3 separate regions of the Homo sapiens genome follow, and all the other regions are linked to region 1. The links are contacts of gene promoters, found by promoter capture Hi-C in blood cells and fetal thymus (Javierre and others, 2016). All regions are on one chromosome and are shown on one strand. The core of a region is centred on a gene start or on the middle of the fragment in contact, and the rest is flanking DNA. Distances in the headings are between cores, read along the strand shown.

What was found. The method cuts DNA at HindIII sites, captures the fragments that hold promoters and counts their contacts. A CHiCAGO score of 5 or more calls a contact.
Region 2: a contact is called between a fragment that was not itself captured here and the fragment with the promoter of PCK2 in region 1, in 1 of 17 cell types (naive CD8 T cells). The highest score is 6.7, in naive CD8 T cells.
Region 3: a fragment that was not itself captured here is called in contact with the fragment with the promoter of PCK2 in region 1 in 1 of 17 cell types (naive CD4 T cells); the score reaches 5.4 in naive CD4 T cells.

What each region holds. Positions count from the first base shown.
Region 1 is chr14:24,092,839-24,095,933 of GRCh38, forward strand. PCK2 (phosphoenolpyruvate carboxykinase 2, mitochondrial) reads left to right here and starts at 1,473. Exons shown (of 10, transcript NM_004563.4): 1 at 1,473-1,596. The coding sequence starts at 1,568. The region is part of intron 1 of NRL (neural retina leucine zipper); the gene reads right to left. RefSeq lists a silencer at 1,239-1,488 and enhancers at 1,496-2,145, 1,799-1,868. The HindIII fragment of the contact is 4,962 bases long and covers 1-3,095 here.
Region 2 is chr14:23,601,152-23,604,246 of GRCh38, forward strand. No RefSeq gene overlaps it. Among named protein-coding and RNA genes, the nearest start is that of JPH4, 24 kb to the left of the region's middle. RefSeq lists an enhancer at 1,209-1,503. The HindIII fragment of the contact is 5,671 bases long and covers 1-3,095 here.
Region 3 is chr14:23,625,804-23,628,898 of GRCh38, forward strand. No RefSeq gene overlaps it. Among named protein-coding and RNA genes, the nearest start is that of DHRS2, 9.0 kb to the right of the region's middle. The HindIII fragment of the contact is 1,108 bases long and covers 1,016-2,123 here.

The DNA.
Region 1 (3,095 bases), core at 223-2,722:
TCAGGAATCCATTGCTCGCCATCTCCCTGCTCTGCTTCCTCTAGGCTGGCTTCTGTCTCAGCCAGGTTCCTGCTTTGCAGTGCCAAGCTAACACTCAGCAGCTCCAGGCTTATATTCTACCAGCTCAGCAACTCAGCAGAAAGAGAGCTAACTTCCAAAGTTTTAGAAAAAGTCCCAGAGAGGGATCTCATGCCCATCCTTGAACATCCTTGATTGCTGTGGCCAGAGTGAGGAACACAAAAGTTGGCTAAGCTGCAAGCCTACCCCCAAGAGGGGTGACATCAGACCCACATGACAATACAGACTGAGGAGATGGTTCCCCAAAAGAAAATCAGGGTGCTATTACCAGAAAAGGCGAGTGGATGCTGAGCAGACACCCATCATAGATATGCTGAGTTTGAGGTGCTATATAGCATTGTGGGTGATATCCAGTGGTCTCAGGTTGGAGAGAGATGTCCCAATGGAGGTATAGCTTGAGAAATCACCTGAGGACTTTATGATGGTAGTTGGGTGGGCAGATGAGTTTCCTCATTGGATTGTGGAGAGAAAGAATGACCAGGCCGGGCGTGGTGGCTCACGCCTGTAAATTCCAGCACTTTGGGAGGCCAAGGCAGGCGGATCACGAGGTCAGGAGTTGGAGACCAGCTTGGCCAGCATGGAGAAACCCCGTCTTTACAAAAAATACAAAAAATCAGCCGAGTGTGGTGGCAGGCGCCTGTAATTCCAGCTACTCTGCAGGTTGAGACAGGAGAATTGCTTGAACCCGGGAGGCGGAGTGTGCAGTGAGCCGAGATCGCGCCACTGCACGCACTCCAGCCTGGGTGACAGAGTAAGACTCCGTCAGGGGAAGAGGGGATGTGCCGGGGGAGGAGAATGACCAGATCAGAGGACCAAGGAAGAGACCCAGGGGTAGAGAGACTCCACCATTTCATGGCAAGGCAGAAAGGAGCCTTGATCAGGAGGAGAAACGGGGATTTAGGAGTTGGGGACTAAGTGGACCTTAGCATTGGGCACTTGGACTACAGAAAGGCCCAGGACTCAGGGTGTCGCGTCCCCAGGAGGAGGAACTGGAAAGGCAATGCCCAACCCCCTAACTTCTAGACGTCTGGCCCCTGTAGTCTCCCGCCCCTGGCCTCGCCCCTCGTTCCTAGCTTGTTTGCCACCTAGTGTCTCTCCCGGGAGCAAGAGTCCTCAAAGTTACATCATGTGCGGCTGGGAGGGCGGTGGCGGATGGGGGGCGGGGCCTCGAAGTCGGGGGCCGAAGAGTGGACCCAGTCCTCCAATGGGAGAGATGGGTTTGGCGGTTTGGAGGCAGGGGTTGGGGCGGCGGCTGGGCTGACCTGGAGCCTGGAGCCCCGGGGCCGAGGGAGCTGGCCTGCCAGCGGGGCGGAGGAAAGCTAGTGCCAGCCCTACCAGGTTCCGCCCCCGCGCCTGCCCCCCTCCTTTTTAAGCGCCTCCCGCCAGCCTCTGCTGTGGCTCGCTTCGCCGCGCTCCCTCCTTCCCCGCCTTCCATACCTCCCCGGCTCCGCTCGGTTCCTGGCCACCCCGCAGCCCCTGCCCAGGTGCCATGGCCGCATTGTACCGCCCTGGCCTGCGGTGAGTGACCCCCGGCCCGGGGCCCACCCGCACCTTCCGCTGCGCTCGCCCCCTCGGGGCTGCCAGTGGCGCTCTCCTGCTCTCAGCCTCCGCCAGGTTTCCCATCCTAGGCGGAGGCGGGCAGGGGCGACTGCTGTGGGTCCAGCCTCCCGCGCCGCGCGTCTCTTGGGAGGGCAGCCGGCCGGTGCTCCTCGTTTCCGCCTGCACCTCCCCTTCTCTGCCTCGCTCGCCTCTGACCGCGCGATCTCTATCTGCCACTCTCAGAACTTCCTCTCTCTCCTCGCTCCTCTCTGCTGAGCCAGGTCTCCGCATATCCTCCTTTCCTTCCCAGATACCTCCCTCGGACCTCTAACGGGCTCTCAGCCAGCGCCCCAGGGTACTTCGAGAGGCAGCAGGGCCCTGGGGACAAGGGTACGTGAGCCCCGGGAGACTAAGCTCAGAGCCCCCTAAAGAAGGTGGAAGGTTAAATATCCATTCCCGGCCTCTCCCGGACTGGAAGGACTGGAACCTGGCGGGAAGTCCAGAGCAGCCCGAGGGACCTGGGCCCAGGGGAGGGAGGCAAGCAAGGTGGGAGGAGGGCGCCAAGTTGCCTTCGTTTCTTACATAGCTGGCTTCTTCCTCCGTCCAGGCCTGGAGCCCCCAGGCTCGTCCTGTTTGTCTGCCTGTCCTCTTAGTCTCCTATTTATTCTCTGAGGCCTCTCTTCTCAGCTTTTGTCCCAGAGTCGGAAGTGACCCACATCTGTCGCACAGCCCGTTCCACTTGGGCAGCCCTTGTGGGTGGTCTCTGAAGGAAACGTCCCACTTAGAGGGCTGCAAGAGGGTGTGGGGGCTTCACAAGAGATAACGTGAGCCAGGCTCCAGGGAGAGAGAGGCTGTCCTCAAGACTGTGTGCTTGAAAACTGATGCTCACGGAGAACTTCCCTCTGAGGCAGGAACAGACCCAGGTCCCAGTAGCCCTCCTCCCCTGCCCCTGGGGCCACACTGATCATCTATCCTGCTTTAGCGGAAACCACCCCAGCTTCTACCCCAGACAGACTCAAGCTCCCGTATCCATGCTCTGAGCTTTCTTCCTTCCCCAGGCTAACACCCTCTGAGTCTGAGCTGCCAGCAAGCTGCTGTTCCACCCTCCCACCAACACCAAAGCTCTCTAGGCATGTGGCCTCTAGGAAGAAGAGCCAGGGGAAGCACGGGGTCACGTGGTCCTGGGTGTGGGGGCAGTTTCTGATGGGCGAGGCCTTGATAGAGGAGGAGAGTAACATCCCCTTCATGGTCTTTGCTCTCTCGGGTTTACTCCACCTTGAGTCCAGGCCAATCAGAGCAGACGTTGCTTCTCTGTCTCCCAGGGCCATGAGAGGACAGACAACAGGACGCTGACCTCCTGAGAATTAAGCCCATGAACCCCAGCCAGTGACACTCATTCCCCAGTGGTCAACCTTCCGCAGAGTTCAGAAATACTTACCCGAGGGCAACATTTTATGCAACCATTGTTGGTCCAAGTG
Region 2 (3,095 bases), core at 226-2,725, 490 kb before region 1:
AGTTCCCAGGTTAGGCTGATGCTACTGGACCAAAGGCCACATTTTGAGGAATACTACCCTTGGCCATACAGCTGCGAAGTGTAGGGTCCTGTTCGTTTTCCCCCTAAAATCTATGTTTTTTAAACCACTGCACATGTTGCCTCATTACAAACTTTTCTTTGTAGATTCCCCCCAACCCTGTCCTTGGTGGGAGATGAACTGGGTGAAGCATGCAGCCAGCCTCCCTCTCTTCACTCTAATCATACCTGTAGCTTTCTCTCCTCCTGGGAAGACTTGCCCCAGCCACCCAGCTCTTTTTCTGTATGGCTGTGTGCTATGGTCTGAATGTGTCCACCTCAGATTCATATGTTAAAACCTCATCTCCAATCTCCTGGTGGTATTAGGAGGAGGGGCTTGGGAGGTGATTAGGGATAAGAATGTAGCCATCCCAGAGAGCTGCCTTGCCTCTTCTACCATGGGAAGACATAATGAGAAGGTGCCATCTGTGAACCAGGAAGTGTGCTCTCACCAGACACAGAGTCTGCTGGCAACTTGATCTTGGACTTCCAGCCTCCAGAACTGTAAGAAACAAATTTCTGTTGTTTGTAGGCCACCCAATCTGTGATACTTGGTTATAGCAGACTGGACAGACTAAGACACTCTGTTACCCTGTCAGGAATATCTTCCTAATGACACCATTCTACCATCTCCTCTGTCCTTGATTCTCAGGGGGCATCCTGCTCCTACCCAGTGGATGGAAGGAGCCTACAGGAGTAATTTGATAGTTTGGCTTCAAGGCCATGTGGCTGCTGGTCTTGAGATGATCCTGGGGCTCTTTTGTGCCACTGAATCTGACCTTGTGGTTTCATGCTCCAGATCACATAATGACTGAGGCTCTTGCTTGTGGGTCCCTGACATCAACAGCCAGACCTCTTTTGTACTGACCTCCTGCTCACTGGTATTGACAGGTCTCTTCCTGCTTGACCAGCACTCTGCTTATGCTGGCACAGGAGCTGCCCTGAATACGTTCAGAGTGACTGTGGGCATTCTTTCCTCTGGGGTGCATGTCTAAGGTCATACTCGCATTCTTGGAGGTGGGCTTCCCTTCACCTTCAACCACTACTGTGTCTCCTTGATGATAAGCTACAGGAAAAGAAGAGTAGGGTAACTTTAACTGCACTAATATTTAGTGGTGATCCCGGCACCCCTCCCCTGACAGAGCAAAGTCTCGGGGCTGAACTGAAGAGGTAGTGTGACCCTGTTTTATAGCAGAAAGAACATGCAGGCATTACATGAATACTGAGACCCAGACACCACATGCAGCAGCTCAGGTGCCTAGTGAGGCTCCCACTGCAAAAGGCGACTGTTTCATCTTCAATAAAGCAAACATTAGATAAAGCACATTAGAAGGCCAAGTGACTCATTTCTATTTCTGGCCTTCAGACATCAGTGACCATGGTGACCTCAGGCTGTGGACAGGAAGGATGGTTGAGGGGTTGGCAGTGGTAGGATGGGCCCCAAACCCTCTGCAGGAGACCCTGAACAACTTTGGAAAGACTTCTGACCATTTTTGCCTTGAATGATGACGCACCAGGGCCCTCTGGTCCTTGCCCTCGTTCAGATCTGACTCCTGTGCTCTCGTCTCCGTGAGCTTACCTGTGAGTACCCCTCTTTCCCACCACATTCTCACCAGTTTCTGGATCACTCTCCCAGCAGAACTAGTGGCTCTCCCCTTTGGAATCCCACAGGACTTGGTTCCTCTGCATCTCAGGAGTTTCTTACATTGTCTCATCTGTGGTTGTTCTGCCCGCACCCGACCCCTAGGCCCTAGAGGGCAGGGACCCATTCCCAGTGCTATGCAAAAGCCTGACAGTGATGACTAAAAAGCTACAGGCTGTCACGTAACACTGGGGGCTGCTAGCCCCACCTGAGACCCCACTGGGTTGCCAGAGCCTAGGTATTCGATCCCTGGTTTTCTAGATTTGTCCTGAAATTCAAAGCTCAAGCTACTGTAGCCAAATGGCCACAGTGGGCAGGGAGGAGGCCGGCAGGGGAGGGTAGGTGGGGTGCAGGAGCTCTGCAGAACTGTGCTGGGACCAGAGGACTGTTCCTGACTTGAGCCAGGCTCTGGAAAGCGGAATTTGGTCAGAAGGGAAGGGAGGTATTGGTGGGAGGGGTGCCCAAAGGACCAGCAGTTAGAGGAAAGAGGCCCATCTGGAAGCCCATCTGGGCTGGAACCACCCACCCTTTGGAATGCATTTATGCTAATTAGATACCATGTCTTAAAGTAGATTTAGAGGTTCATAATGTTTTTATTAAAAGAAAAGAAAAAAAAGAAACCATGTCAAATAGGTTTGGGATCTGATGGGCTTTAGGGTGGGAAAGTCAGAAGGCCTGGGGTACCTGATGGAGAGGAAGCAAAGGTGAAATTTGTGGTTTCTTAGGTCAGTAACCTATCTTCTCTAGACTGCAGTTGCCTCTCTAGACACAGCTTTGGTGTTAGGTCTGAGTTTATCCACCAGTTCTTCACAGGCCACTGGGGCCCCTAATGAGGCTCCTGGGGGGTTCTTTCTGGGACATCTGAGCAGGCTCTGGAGTCAGGAGGACCCTGCCAGGTTGTAGCTTGTGTGTCTTTGGGAATGTTGTGCAACCTCACTGAAACTCAGTTTTTCTTACCGTTAAAAAGGGTGTCATGTGCCAGGTGTGGTGGCTCAGGCCTGTAATCCCAGCATTTTGGGAGGCCGAGGCGGGTGGATCACGAGGTCAGGAGTTAGAGACCAGCCTGATCAACATGGCGAAACCCCGTCTCTACTAAAAATACAAAAAAAATTAGCCGGGGGTGGTGGTGCGCACCTGTAACCCCAGCTACTCAGGAGGCTGAGGCAGGAGAATCGCTTGAACATGCGGGGCGGAGGTTGCAGTGAGCTGAGATCACGCCATTGCACTCCAGCTTGGGTGACAAGAGTGAAACTCTGTCTCAAAAAAACAAAACAAAACAAAACAGTTTATTAAGAAAGTAAAGGAATAAAGAATGGCTACTCCTTAGGCAGATCAGTGGCTTGGGCTGCTGGTTGACCATTTTTATGGTTATTTCTTGATTATATGCTAAACTAGGG
Region 3 (3,095 bases), core at 320-2,819, 470 kb before region 1:
TTAGTATATGTTACCAGTGATAATTGTAATTGTTATGTTAAATTATTGTGTGCCACAAAGATAGCAAATTTCCTTGTCAGTTGCATCTTTGGCCGTGGCTGCCCTAAGACTTTTTGTCATCCACAGACCATTATTGTCTTCTTTTGAACCTCTGTAAAAGATGGTTTTATAATCGCTGTAGGACCCTAACAGGTGCTCTTAAATCCAGGTTTCTGATAACTTTGGAGATTGTGACATTAGAATAGATGAAAAAACTTTCAGGACTCTCATGGAGAGCTGAAATATTCATGAATATCAAGCAGAATAGGAGTTAATTGCATGGCCTGAACTAATAGAAGACTGAAATAATCCTTTTGTGACTTTTTGCTGAAAACATTGCTGATCCTTTGTTTTTCAGAGCCAAGAAAACTTTTCTCCTGAGCTGTTTACAGCTTTTAACAATTAAGTAAAATATACTGCTGTAAGCAAAATTTGGAGCATGTTTGTTTCTTTCTACGTGATTTCTTTAGAATTTGGAAACTATTTGTGAGTATTCTAAAGTTATGGCAATATAGTTGTTTGCATAAGTGCAATAAGAATCTGTTTCCTTTTGCAACAGGACACAATTGGAGAAACTGATTATTTTACCAAGGCTTTGACTAGAATGGTGTGCTTTCCTTTAAGGAATCAAATTTGACTTACAGAGCCAATAAAAACCCCTTGGGAACACTTCCCTCATAGCTTGTCTACACAGTTCTTGTACAGGGTTCTTGACTTGTGGTAAGTAGAGAATGTCACTTTCTGACAGGTCCAGGAGCCTCAAGTTATCTTGGGACCTCTAGAGGAGAGGAATTCACCCAACTCATACAGGTATTTGATGGCACAAACCCATGGCTTGTCTTAAGGCTTTAAAGTCTTATCTGGGATTCCTCATGGAACAGTTTCATCAAAACCCATTTTAAAAGGAGATTATATGGCAAATAATTATTTTTACTGTATTCTATGTAAATAATCAGGCTGAGTATAATAAGACTAAAGCTTATTTTGTAAATAAGTCAGTCCTACCATGATTTGTTTTTAGTAAAAAAAAAAAAGGGAAATTAGAGAGAGAAAAATTATGTTTCAAGAACTATGGTATACCTGTTATTAGATTCTAGTCTTATCAGTTGCTTTTGAGTTTTTTTCCTCCACAATTTAGACTGACCCTGCTTATTCCTGTGAACCAACCAGTGATCTCTGGCTGCAGCTCAGAAGAAACAAGAAGGATGGGCCATCAAGCTCCAGATGATCCTCAGTGAGGAATACCATCCTCTCAATATTCAGGAGTCACCCTTCTACAGAGGACCCCTAGAATGCTCATCAGTGGGACACAACAGAGGTGAAATTCTGCCCCTGCCTCCCTTGGACCTGGCTGAATACTGCTTTCACCAACCCATGGAGCCACCCTGCCCTGACAGCTAGCAAGAGGCCAAGACTCACAGAACAACCACCACTGCCCATCTGTCAGCAGGAGGTAGCTATAAAAGACTGATCTTTGTCCATTCTCCCCAAAGAATTGGGAGTTTTGGATGAACTCTTGATGGGGGAAGTGTTTACAGTAGGTAGTCAGGTAGACATGAACAGGATAGGAGAGGCCCCCCACTCAGGAATGTCAGGAGACCATCAGGTGATGGTCAGACAGTTGTTATACTGTCTCTCTAAAATAATAATTGGTCACAGCTGATGCCAGGGAAAGGCTGTCTCCCAATAGATAGAAACACCTGAAGCTGGTGATCAGCAGCTTCTTGATAAGATCTCAGGAGTTGGGTGAGTGGGCTCAAGCATGCTACATCAAGAGGCAAAATGTTGGAGTTTAGTATATGACCTTCTTCTAGGAATACTTGACTGGTAAAGGAAGAATGCCTCAAGTGAGCCTGTGTACAACTCCAGTAAACACACTGTGCATGCAGCCCCCTCCCAAGTGCTGGCAGGCCACTGTGCATGCAGACAGCCCAAGGTAAGAATCAGGGGAGAAGTAACACAACCCTGGAAGCCTGGCAACATATAAGACACCAAGTCAAAGGTCAAACTGGGCAGTTGATCTCTCAAGTCACCTGCTTGGCCCTCTTCTAAGTGCACTTTACTTTCTTTCATTCCTGCACTAAAGCTTTTTAACAAACTTTCACTCCTGTTCAAAAAGTTCCCCCAGTTTCTCACTCTGCCTTGTGCCCCTCAGTCGAATTCTTTCTTCTGAAGAGGCAAAAACTGAAGTTGCTGCAGACCCATATGGATTTGCTGTTGCTAACATACTTTGGTGCAATGTGACTCATATGTTCCCTAGTGGTAACATCTTTAGGTCTCAGATCCTGATAGGGACCAGAAAGCTCTGGAATTCTCTGTGCAACAAAAGATTACATCAGGGACAGAACGCACTCCCAGCTGAAGAGTGACTCAATTATTAGGTTGGTGCAAACGTAATTGCAGTTTTTGCATTGTTGAAATTTGCTGTTTGATATTGGAATACATTCTTAAATAAATATGCTTATGTTGGCCGGGCACGGTGGCTCACGCCTGTAATCCCAGCATTTTGGGAGGCCAAGGCAGGTGGATCACGAGGTCAGGGGATAGAGACCATCCTGGCTAACATGGTGAAACCCCATCTGTACTAAAAATACAAAACAAAATTAGCCGGGTGTGGTGGCAGGTCCCTGTAGTCCCAGCTACTCAGGAGGCTGAGGAAGGAGAATGGCATGAACCCAGGAGGCGGAGCTTGCGGTGAGCCAAGGTCACACCATTGCACTCCAGCCTGGGCGACAGAGTGCGACTCCGTCTCAAAAAAAAAAAAAAAAAAGAGAAAAAAAATATATATGCGCTTATGTTATATATCATTTTAATGTGCATTTCTTGCTTTGCATTTTTTTTGGCTAAGGACTTGTTACTTGCTGTTTATTTTATACTTATTTTAGACTATGGAAATGGTGTTAGACAAAAAGCAAATTTGAGCGATTTTCTTATTTGAGTTCAAAATGGGTTGTAAAGCAGTGCAGACAACTCACATCATCAACAATGCATTTGGCCCAGGAGCTGCTAACAAATGTACAGTGCAGTGGTGGTTCAAGAAGTTTTGCAAAGGAGAC